2 separate regions of the Homo sapiens genome follow, and region 1 is linked to region 2. The links are contacts of gene promoters, found by promoter capture Hi-C in blood cells and fetal thymus (Javierre and others, 2016). All regions are on one chromosome and are shown on one strand. Each heading gives the region's core, a stretch centred on a gene start or on the middle of the fragment in contact. The rest is flanking DNA. Distances are from core to core; before and after follow the strand shown. Region 1 has its middle 25 kb from the start of ATP2B4. Region 2 holds the start of OPTC (opticin).

Region 1 (5,344 bases), core at 2,720-5,219, 110 kb after region 2:
GAGCTATGCCTCGAAAGTAGTTGCTGTGGGCCAGCCATGGTGGCTCACGCCTGTAATCCCAGGACTTTGGGAGGCCAAGGCAGGCAGATCTCTTGAGGCCAAGAGTTCAAGACCAGCCTGGCCAACATGGCAAAACCCATCTCCACTAAAAACACAAAAATCAGCCGGGCGTGGTGGCGGGCGCCTGTAATCCCAGCTACTTTGGAGGCTGAGGCAGGAGACTTGCTTGAACCCAGGAGGCGGAGGTTGCAGTGAGCTGAGATCATGCCACTGCACTCCAGCCTGGGCAACAGAGCGAGATTCTGTCTCAAAAACAAACAAAAAAAAAGTAGTTGCTGTGAAAGCAAACTTAGTTTCATATGATGGTGGCATAATTTTAGATTTTTAACCAAAATGTACCGAATTTCCCATATATCTCTAGGACAGTTCCCCAGTTCCTGCTTCTCCTCCCTGACGCTGGGGCTTCACCACCTCCTCCCCTCTTTCCAGGGCTCCCCCATGTCCCATCAGTCCAACCAGCTCCCAGTCCAACCAGCTCTGGATCCAGATCCCAAGAGAGGGTTCTTAGATCTCACACAAGAAAGAATCCGAGGCAAATACATACAGTAAAGTGAAAGCAAATTTATTACGAAAGTAAAGGGGCTGTTCTGCCTATGGAGTAGCCATTCCTTTGCTTTCTTAATAAACTTGCTTTCACTTAAAAAAAAAAAAAGTAAAGGAATAAAGAATGGCTACTTTATAGGCTGAGCAGCCCCGAGGGCTGCTAGTTGCCCATTTTTATGACTATTTCATTTGTAAACTGTCATGGGACTGGTGAGAGTGTAGCAGTGAGGATGACCAGAGGTCACTCTCTTCACCATCTTGTTTTGGTGGGTTTTAGCCAGCTTATTTACTGCAAACTGTTTTATCAGCAAGGTCTTTGTGACCTGTATCTTGTGCCAATCTCCTATCTCATCCTGTGACGTAGAATGCCTAACTATCTGGGAATGTAGCCCAGTAGGTCTCAGCCTTATTTTACCCAGCTCCTAGTCAAAATGGAGTCACTCTGGTTCAAATACCTCTGACACTAGGAGTCTGATTCAGTTCAGCTGGGTCTCACTTCCTGACCTGTTTCCACCTCAGTGCTCTAACCTGCCCATTGCCCCCTCAGCCTGAGGAAGCAGGTTTCTTTCAAGCACGTCTGAGGCTGCACTCTCACTATGCAGTACCACACTCCCACCCTCACTGAAAGGCAGGCCACCCCGCCCCCACAGCCCTGCCTCCATTACACAAAGATCCACCTCACCCCCACCAGAGGCCCCAGGCTAACTGGAAGGACCCTAGGCCGCATTATGGACTGTCTTGGGGACAGCTAGAGGCAGGCCTGCACCCAGATGAAGATGTGGGGAGGCAGAACAGAGTCTGGAGTCTGGAGAATTGGGCTGTCTCTTGGTTCCAATAGTGCTGTGGCAGATAAACAATTACCGAGGGCTTTCTGCAGGCCAGCCAGACAGGGGCCTAGCCTGGGACTACTACTGTTCCCCCTCTAGGCTGCCCCCACCAGCTAGCTCTCTGCACCACACGGAACCGGAACCCGAACACTGAGCCGCACTCCCATGTCCAGCCACATCTGCTTGCTCTCCATCTCACCTTCTTCTTCATCTCCCTTTCCCTAAAACTTTTCTGAGCCTCTTCTTGTTTTCTCCCCATTTCTTCAATTTCTTCCCTGCCCTCTCCTTCTTTATTTCTCTTTCTTTTCCCCTCCTCTCTTCCCCTCTCCTGTTCTCCTCCAGAGTTCTTCCCTCCCCTCCCCATCCATCCCCCAAGTCCACACCCCATCCCTCCTGCCACTATATTTAGCTCCCAGCCGGGGCTTTAGAAAGGCGCCACTGCTGGAGCTGGCGTCTAGTCTTGAAGGGTCTGTCAGCATTTCCATAAGAGGCTCAGCTGGGATGAGTTTATGACTGAGCTATTTTCTTTCCTTGCCTCACCGGCCCTGGGCTGAGCATAAGCAGAAAGGGGACCTCCAGGTACATTGGAGAGTTCTCCCCTGACATGGGCAAGCTCTTCCAAAGAAAAAGGAACTATGGGTTAAATCTTAGGTGAATCTGGGACCTAGGTAACTAGCAATTTGTGGGGCACAGCGAGTTAGGACTCTGCTATTGGTTAGGAACTCCCAGAGCCTGAGGGCAGAGCCTTCCTAGCCAGAGCGGGAGCAAATGTTTGCCCTCAGGATTCATCATATGACCTAAGCAACTTTGAAAGACTTCTTTCCCCAAAGTATTCACCAGCCTGCTATGGTCTCTGTAATCCCCACTGTTATAGCCATTTCTTTCTGTTAAACCAATGCCTCTAGAAGACCTCCTATAAAAATCATTTCCAATATTTGATGGACACATTACTAAGTGGTTTGAACACACCATTGCTTTTGATCCTCACAATTTAGCACTTTGATGAAACTTGCTGAGGACACTCAGTTCATTTTTATTTTTATTTTTTGAGACAGGATCTAGCTCTGTTGCCCAAGCTGGAGTGTAGTGACGCAATCTCTGCTCACTTCAGCCTAGACCTTCTGGGCTCAAGCGATCCTCCCACCTCAACCTCCCAAGTAGCTGGGACTACAGGCATGTGCCACCATGCCTGGCTAATTTTTGTACTTTTTGTGGAGATGGGGTTTTGGCATGTTGCCCAGGCTGGTCTCATGAACTCCTGGGCTCAAGCAATCCACCAGCCTCGGCCTGTAGTGCTTGGACTGCAGGTATGAGCCACCCCACCCGGCCAACACCCAGCTTAGTAGCAGTCAAGCCTAAGCTTGAATGCAGGTCTTGCACCTCCGACTGTTGTACTTTCTTCACCACACTGAATGAAACTGCCGCCCTGGGTAGACCAAGAATTTACAGCTACAAGGCCAGAAGCTTCAGCAGCAGGTTCAGAGACCTGGCTGGAATCCTGGCTCTACTACTTAAGTGTTATGTGGCCTTGGGCAGGTCACTTCACTACAGTGAGTCCCTCAGAGGACCGTTATGAGGACATAATGACCTAAATGCTCAACAGATAGGTGTTAATAAAGGGTAAATAGTATCACTTTCATGTTAACAGAGCCAGATCCCTGAAAGTGGGGGATGTGGGACAACCAAGTTCCATGGGACAGGATAGCAGGGATCTGGAGAGGTGTGGGCTGTGGCATGCGTGAGATGAGCAGCAGACCTGGCTAGCATGTGCAGGTGCAGGGGCATGGGGCAGCAAATGCCAACCACCATGTAGTCCCTTGAGTGGGATGATACATAAACACCATTCACATCTATCTGTTCATTTACTCCCAAAGGCTGAGGATGGCTGTAAGTGGGAGACAGAGCCAGCATTATTATCCCCATTTTACAGGTATGGAGACCAAGGTCCAGAAGAGGAAAGTAATCTGCCCAAGGTCACAGCTAATTATTTCATTCATTTGTTCACTCTCTCATTGAAGATATATATATATATATAGTCTACATATAGAGAGAGAGACTCCAGGCTGGAGTGCAGTGGTGTGATCTTGGCTTACTGCAACCTCTGCCTCCCAGGTTCAAGTGATTCTCCTGCCTCAGCCTCCCAAGTAGCTGGAATTACAGGCGCCCACCACCATGCCTGGCTAATTTTTGTATTTTTAGTAGAGATGGGGTTTCACCATGTTGGCCAGGCTGGTCTCAAACTCCTGACCTCAGGTGATCCGTCATCCTCGGCCTCCCAAAGTGCTGGGATTACAGGCGTGAGCCAGTCACTGCGCCTTGCCTTCTCATTGGATATATAGTGAGCATCTACTACATGCAGATGCTGTGTTATACACTGGACATACTCAGTGACAGAGCTAGAATCAGAACCCAGGACCGGGACACCTGTCCCATGAATTCTCCAGTATAAGACTGCCATGCAGCCTTAGGGCCAGAGTTACTGGTTCTACTGGTGACAAGTAGGGACTGACCATAGGTAGAGGACAAAGGTGCACCCTGTATGGATCATCTCTAACCCTTTGGCCTTACCCAACCCCCACCCCATACTAGCTTGGGAAAGCCACATTGCAATGTTTCCCTGAAAGGCGGGCAAAGAAGTTGCAGAGTAAAGAGACCTCGGGCGAGCATAGTTCTCGATCCCTTGGGTCCTTAGTCTTTCTAGAGCCCAACCACAAATGCCATATCTACCACCCCATGACAAGATGGCTGTTCCCCTCCAACAGGAGCAGCTGGAGGGTCCCCCAGGATCCAGAAATCCTGACTATTAGGTTAGAGCAGGGCTTCAGAGACTTCAAGTGAACTGGAGGACAGAGATACTCCATCCCATTCACCTTCCTGGGACAAAGGAAGTTACTTCCTGGCTTCTCTCTGAATGCTACACTAATTCTTCCTCCTGGGATAAGAACATCATTTATAGCATCAGATAATGTAGATGGGTTAAAGGGTGGGAGAAACAGAGGTAGAGTAACTTCAAGAGTTGTAAATAGGACCATGAGGTTGCCCAAGGAGATGTGCAATTTCCCTAAATCTCTCCCATCCATCCATGGCCCATCCACACACCCACTTGAATATCTACCCACCCACCCACCCATCCATCCACCCACCCACCCACCCATCCATCCACCCACCCACCCATCCATCCATCCACCCATCCATCCATCCATCCATCCATCCACCCACCCACCCATCCATCCATCCATCCACCCATCCACCCATCCATCCATTCATCCACCCATCCATCCATTCATCCACCCAACCATCCATTCATCCATCCACCCAGCCATCCATTCATCCACCCACCCAGCCATCCATTCAACCATCCACTCAATATAGTTTATTGGGCATCTATAAGGCAAATGCTAACATTAGTGTTTTCCTCTCTCTCCTGCTTCTTTTTCTTCACAAGATCCAAGGGTAAGAAGGCGGCAAATATCCAAGGGTAAGAAAGCAGGAAATATTTTTTCTAGAGATTATCTCTTCAACCAATCAGCCTCTACTAAAAACCAAGCTAATTCCCCAGATAAACCAGCTTCCCCCAGCTGCTGGTACCTGTGATGAACAATCTTTCCTGCCCAGAAGCTTTTATTGTGTTTAACTTGAAGCCCTCCAGCACCATCTATGCTGCATTTGCTGCTCTCACCTGAACACTTCTTCTCCCCTTTGCTGTTCTATTTTTCATTTGCTCCCTTATTCTCATGGCCTCCAGGAAAGAGCTTAGACCTGGAGTCAGAAAACTTCATTTTGAATTCTAGCTCTTTCAGTCACAGTTGAATGACCATAGCCAGTTTCTCCATCTGCAAAATGAGTATAATAATACCCAGTTGTTGTGAGGATCAAATGAGATAATGGATGGGAAGCAGTTTTGTAAACTGTAA
Region 2 (4,885 bases), core at 1,419-3,918:
AAATCAGATTTTGCCAGGTGGATGAAAGAAAAAAAGACGCCACCTGGACAGGAAACAGCATGAGTACAAAGGTAGGAAGGTGTGGAGTCTACCCTGTGGGGCTTGTGTGTCTGAAAAAGAGGAGAGGGTCATGTTCCGGTCATGGAGTGGAGTTATGTGGCTACAAGCCCTCAGCAGGGGATATACCCCTGTCATCCAAAACACAGGAGGGTTCCTGAACTTCCCCGCCTCTCTCTCCCTATCCATGAAAAGGGCAACAACAGGGTTGGCTGGTCAAACTTCTGTCCATACCACCTGCCGCCTCCGATTCATCAACACGCCTTTTGCCTCTCCTAATGAGAGATTAGGATTAGGACGCCTCCCCCGCCTCCTGCTTCCTTTGCCAGGCTCTTGGGGAGCTGGGCTGCCTGGAACAGCAGTCTGCGGGGTTAGCCGTTTCCCCCACCAGGTCACATGTACACATCCATGGACAGCCCCTAATATTCATGAGAACAAGAGTGTGTGACCTGTGAGCTTGGGAAAGCAAGAGGAGAAGTTGGGAGAGGGTCTAGGATGCGAGCCTGAGTCTGGATGTGGCTCCTGCAGGGAGTGGGGGGAGCAGGTGTGTATGCATTGGGGAGGAACGATGGTGGGGGTGTGGCAACCAAGCAGGGATGGCAGGAGCGTATGTCTCTGGGAAAGCAGGGAGGGAGAGTGGGAGCAGGCGGCAGGGAGAGTGAATGAACACTCGCATTTGCATTTCTCCCAGGAATAAATGTGTGGGGTGGGAGCGGGGAGATTGCCTAGGCTGGCTGTGGGGGTGGAGGGCCTCTGGCTGCAAAGCCCAGGCTGTGGAGAGAAGATGGAGGCATACAGCCCGCCAAATGTGCCATCTGCCTACTGGATGCCCTCCAGGATCCAGGGCTATCTTTCCCTCCACCCAGCAGAGCCTCTGATGGTGTCTTTTCCCAGGTGGGGGGCTGCCAGGGGTACAAGAACATGCTCTTCTCTGGTGACCAGGCTCTTGGGCTGAGGGAAGCCCCCTCTTGCACCAGCTGGAGCCCAGGAACACAGCAAGCCAAATGCTGCCCTCGAGGGCCAGGCTATTAGATCTGCCTCTTCACCTGGTGTGCCAGGGCAGAGATGAGTTCTGCCAAGCCATCTGCTCTGAGGGCCTGGAAACACACGGATTCAGGACTCCTGGGGAAGAAGGTGGAAATGGGGAGGGTCATATGAACTAAAGAAAACTCTCTGACCAGGGAGTCAAAAAATCTAGGCATTGGCCCTGGCTCTGTGTGACCTAGGGCAAGTCACGTCACCTCTTTGGGCCTCACTCTCCTCATCTATACCACAAGGACTTGGACTAGATCTTTAGGGGGCCTCACAGCTGGAATTCAGTATCTGGTTGGTGGAAAGGAGTAGGGAACAAGGAGAGTCACTGAGAAACCTGGGTGGGCGCCAGGGCACAGGCTGGCAGAAGCTGGGGAAGACTCCTTAGCCACCCCACCTCTGCCTTCAGCAAGGACTTGCTCGGCAGCCTGCTCGAGGCACCAAGGAAAGGGGAGTGTTTCCAGATGAATGCCGTTGGCCCTCTGTATCTGTGGGTTCCACATCCGTGGATTCAACCAACCACAGATTGAAAATATTCAGAAAAAAAAAAAATTCACAACGTTCCAAAAAGGAAAACTTGAATTTGCTGTGTGCCAGTACTATGTGGAATCCATGTGAATGGAGTGAGGTGTAAGCATTGTGTTTGGTGTTATAGGTAATCTAGAGATGATTTGAAGTACACAGGAGGATGTGCGTAGGTTATGTGCAAATTCACCATTTTATATAAAAGACCTCAGCATATGTGGATTTGGTATCCACTGGACGTGCAGAACCAATCCCCCATGGTTACTGAGGGACGACTGTACATCTCTGAGGGTGCGGGAGAGGATACTTCCCAGGCCCCCGAGACCCTACACAATGTCTACTGGTGTTTATGATCCTTTCTAGGGCCCACCTCCCAATTTCCATTTGGTTTCCTCCTAGCAGATTTAGAGAATTTCCCGTATCCTCATGATCATCATCTGTGAACTTGAAGTTGGCTTTCAAATCCGATCTCATCCCCCATACACCTTCTCTTTGAACTACCTAGGCCTGCAGCTCCTGTCTCTGGTGATTTTATTCAATTATGGTCTCTGTGCTGGCGCTCTAGGTGAGGGTGAAGTGCCTCATTTCCACCTATTTTTATCTTTGGATTCTGGCTATGAAGCTGAAGCCTTGTCACTCTCTGGCTGGAGAAAGAAGCTGCAAAGACAAGCTCTATCTCTCCATATCCCCCGACTCCAGCCTTCTCTGAGGACTCAGAATCTGAGGGATGGGGCCCCTTCCTTGCAGGGGATGGCACTCCCTGTTCCTCAAAGATGTGGCCTTATCAGGAGAGTGGACAAGGAAAAGAAAGAAGGAGCTGACAGAGTAAGAGGAGAGAGAGCAGGAGCTGGAGGTGGGGGGTGAAGCGGAAGGTGGGGGGAGAATTCTCTTTTGTCAAATACAGGAATGGGGCAGGGGACCCCCTGAGGAAAGAGGAGGGGAAACAGCTGGACATCAGAAGGAATGAGAAGTCTGATTGGTCGCAGGCCTGGCCAACTCCTTGCCCTCCCCCGGGCACCACTGTCTAACCCAAGCCCCAGTTCAGACAGCCTCCACCAGAGTCCCCACCTTTCTGGAAGCTGCAGGGCTCTCCATCCAGGATCCAGAAGCATTGAAGGGGTAAGGCTCAAGGTTGAGGCCTCTGGCCATCGGTGCGCAAATGAGGGCAAAGTGTTTGGCTGGGGCAGGGGATTGGGAAGGGAAAATGAAGAGAGTTTAGGCCTCTGGCCAAAGAAGTTGGACAAGACTTTTGGGTGGGCACTAAACTCTCTTAGAAAAATTTTTTTTGAGATTATGTAATTCGTTTGGGGTGAGGTATGGGAGGTAAGGTGAAGAAACACCTCTTGCTACTGCTAGAGGCTTGCCCCCTTGCCCAGCTAAAATTAAGAAAGGGTGGGGAGGTTAACTGGGCATGGTAACACACGCCTGTAGTCCCAGCTACTTGGGAGGCTGAGGCAGGAGGACTGCCTGAGCCCAGGAGGTTAAGGCTTCAGTGAGCTGAGATCATGCCATAACACTCCAGGCTGGGCAACAGAGTGACACCGTCTTAAAAATAGAAAATAAAATAAAAATTAAAAGATAAAAAAAATTTTAAAAGAAAGAAAGAGGGAGAGTCTACTAGAAACTTGTGCAGCTAGCTTTGGGGAGGGCTGTGTTAAGCCTACACTGGGTATGACTGTTGTATACACTTATGCCTGGATACAAAACCACACCACATGCATTTCCTGACCCGTCTATACATATACGAACTACATGAACATTTGTACTCACATGCATATCACATACATACGCAGGCATCTGTGTGCACACACACACAAATATACACAGGTATCTAAGGAAATTTCCAGATGCGTACACACTCATGCAATCACACACAAAGAACTCTTTTATCTGTAATAATCTGTTTCTAAAAAGCTGCATTTAGAAGTATATTTCATAAACTAACATTCTTTTTTACATTGTATGTTTCATTGTAAGTCCATGTCTCCTAAAGAGACTAGGTGCTCCTAGGAAGGGCTGTGCCTCATTCATTCTGTACCCACAGAGACAAGTCCTGTGCCTGGAACTCAATAGACACCCATAAATGTTTGTTGAGCAAATGCATGAATGGATGATCTTTATAAAAAACCACAAGAGTCAACTGGGCGCGGTGGCTCACACCTGTAATTCCAGCACTTTGGGAAGCCAGGGTGGGTGGATCACCTAAGGTCAGGAGTTCGACACCAGCCTGGCCAATATGGTGAAACCCCTTCTCTACTAAAAATACAAAAATTAGCCAGGCATGGTGGGTGCCTGTAATCCCAGCTACTCAGGAGGCTGAGGCAGGAGATTCGCTTGAACCCAGAAGGCGGAGGTTGCAGTGAGCCAAGATCGCACCACTGCACTCCAGCCCGGGAAACAAGAATGAAACTTCGTCTCAAAAAAACAAACAAACAAAAAGACCCCATAAGATTATTTGATGTTGACATTCTCTAAATCGAGCTTAGTGACTAGCAGTCATGTTCTGAGCATGGGGTTGTTTAAGAGAGGACATCTGTGTGCATGCACCAGTGTGTGCCTCGTTTGTAAACAAGGGGACTCTTGTGAATGTGTCTGTGTTGAGATGTGTCTGCACATGCCTCTGTGAGTGAATATCAGTGTTTGGGTGAGCGTGTAAAAACACTCAAGTGGGGCGGTGGAGGGAGGGGGCTGCTAGGAGATACCCCCCAAGACATAGTCCCAGCTGGTAGGGAATTTGTGCATGTGATGAGAGCACTGAGTCTGCAAGTGTGGGGGTGGGAAGTGGAGTAAATCTGCGAGCCATTCCCACAACACTCTGGAGAGCCTGTCCCTCAGATCGCTGCCCTTCCTCGTGCCCACTTGCCAGGACCAGCCGCTGAAGGGATTCTCAGTCCCATCTGACTCCCCATGAGGCTCCTGGCTTTCCTGAGTCTGCTGGCCTTGGTGCTGCAGGAGACAGGGACAGCTTCTCTCCCAAGGAAGGAGAGGAAGAGGAGAGAGGAGCAGATGCCCAGGGAAGGCGATTCCTTTGAAGTTCTGCCTCTGCGGAATGATGTCCTGAACCCAGACAACTATGGTGAAGTCATTGACCTGAGCAACTATGAGGAGCTCACAGATTATGGGGACCAACTCCCCGAGGTGAGGGACACAGCAGACCAACTACATTCCCTGCATGACACTGGGAGTCAGAGGCCAGGGCCCTCCCATCTGCCCCAAAGTGCGGGTGTCTCCAGCCTCCACCTCTTTCTCTGTGAGGTGGAAATTCTTATCC

Evidence for each region. The method cuts DNA at HindIII sites, captures the fragments that hold promoters and counts their contacts. A CHiCAGO score of 5 or more calls a contact.
Region 1: a fragment that was not itself captured here is called in contact with the fragment with the promoter of OPTC in region 2 in 2 of 17 cell types (M0 macrophages and M2 macrophages); the score reaches 6.9 in M0 macrophages.

Annotation. Positions count from the first base shown.
Region 1 is chr1:203,599,390-203,604,733 of GRCh38, forward strand. No RefSeq gene overlaps it. Among named protein-coding and RNA genes, the nearest start is that of ATP2B4, 25 kb to the right of the region's middle. RefSeq lists enhancers at 859-1,359, 1,360-1,860. The HindIII fragment of the contact is 2,154 bases long and covers 2,893-5,046 here.
Region 2 is chr1:203,491,485-203,496,369 of GRCh38, forward strand. It overlaps OPTC (opticin), which reads left to right and starts at 2,669. Exons shown (of 8, transcript NM_014359.4): 1 at 2,669-2,733; 2 at 4,481-4,752. The coding sequence starts at 4,522. RefSeq lists an enhancer at 1-774 and a silencer at 2,162-2,390. The HindIII fragment of the contact is 16,129 bases long and covers 1-4,885 here.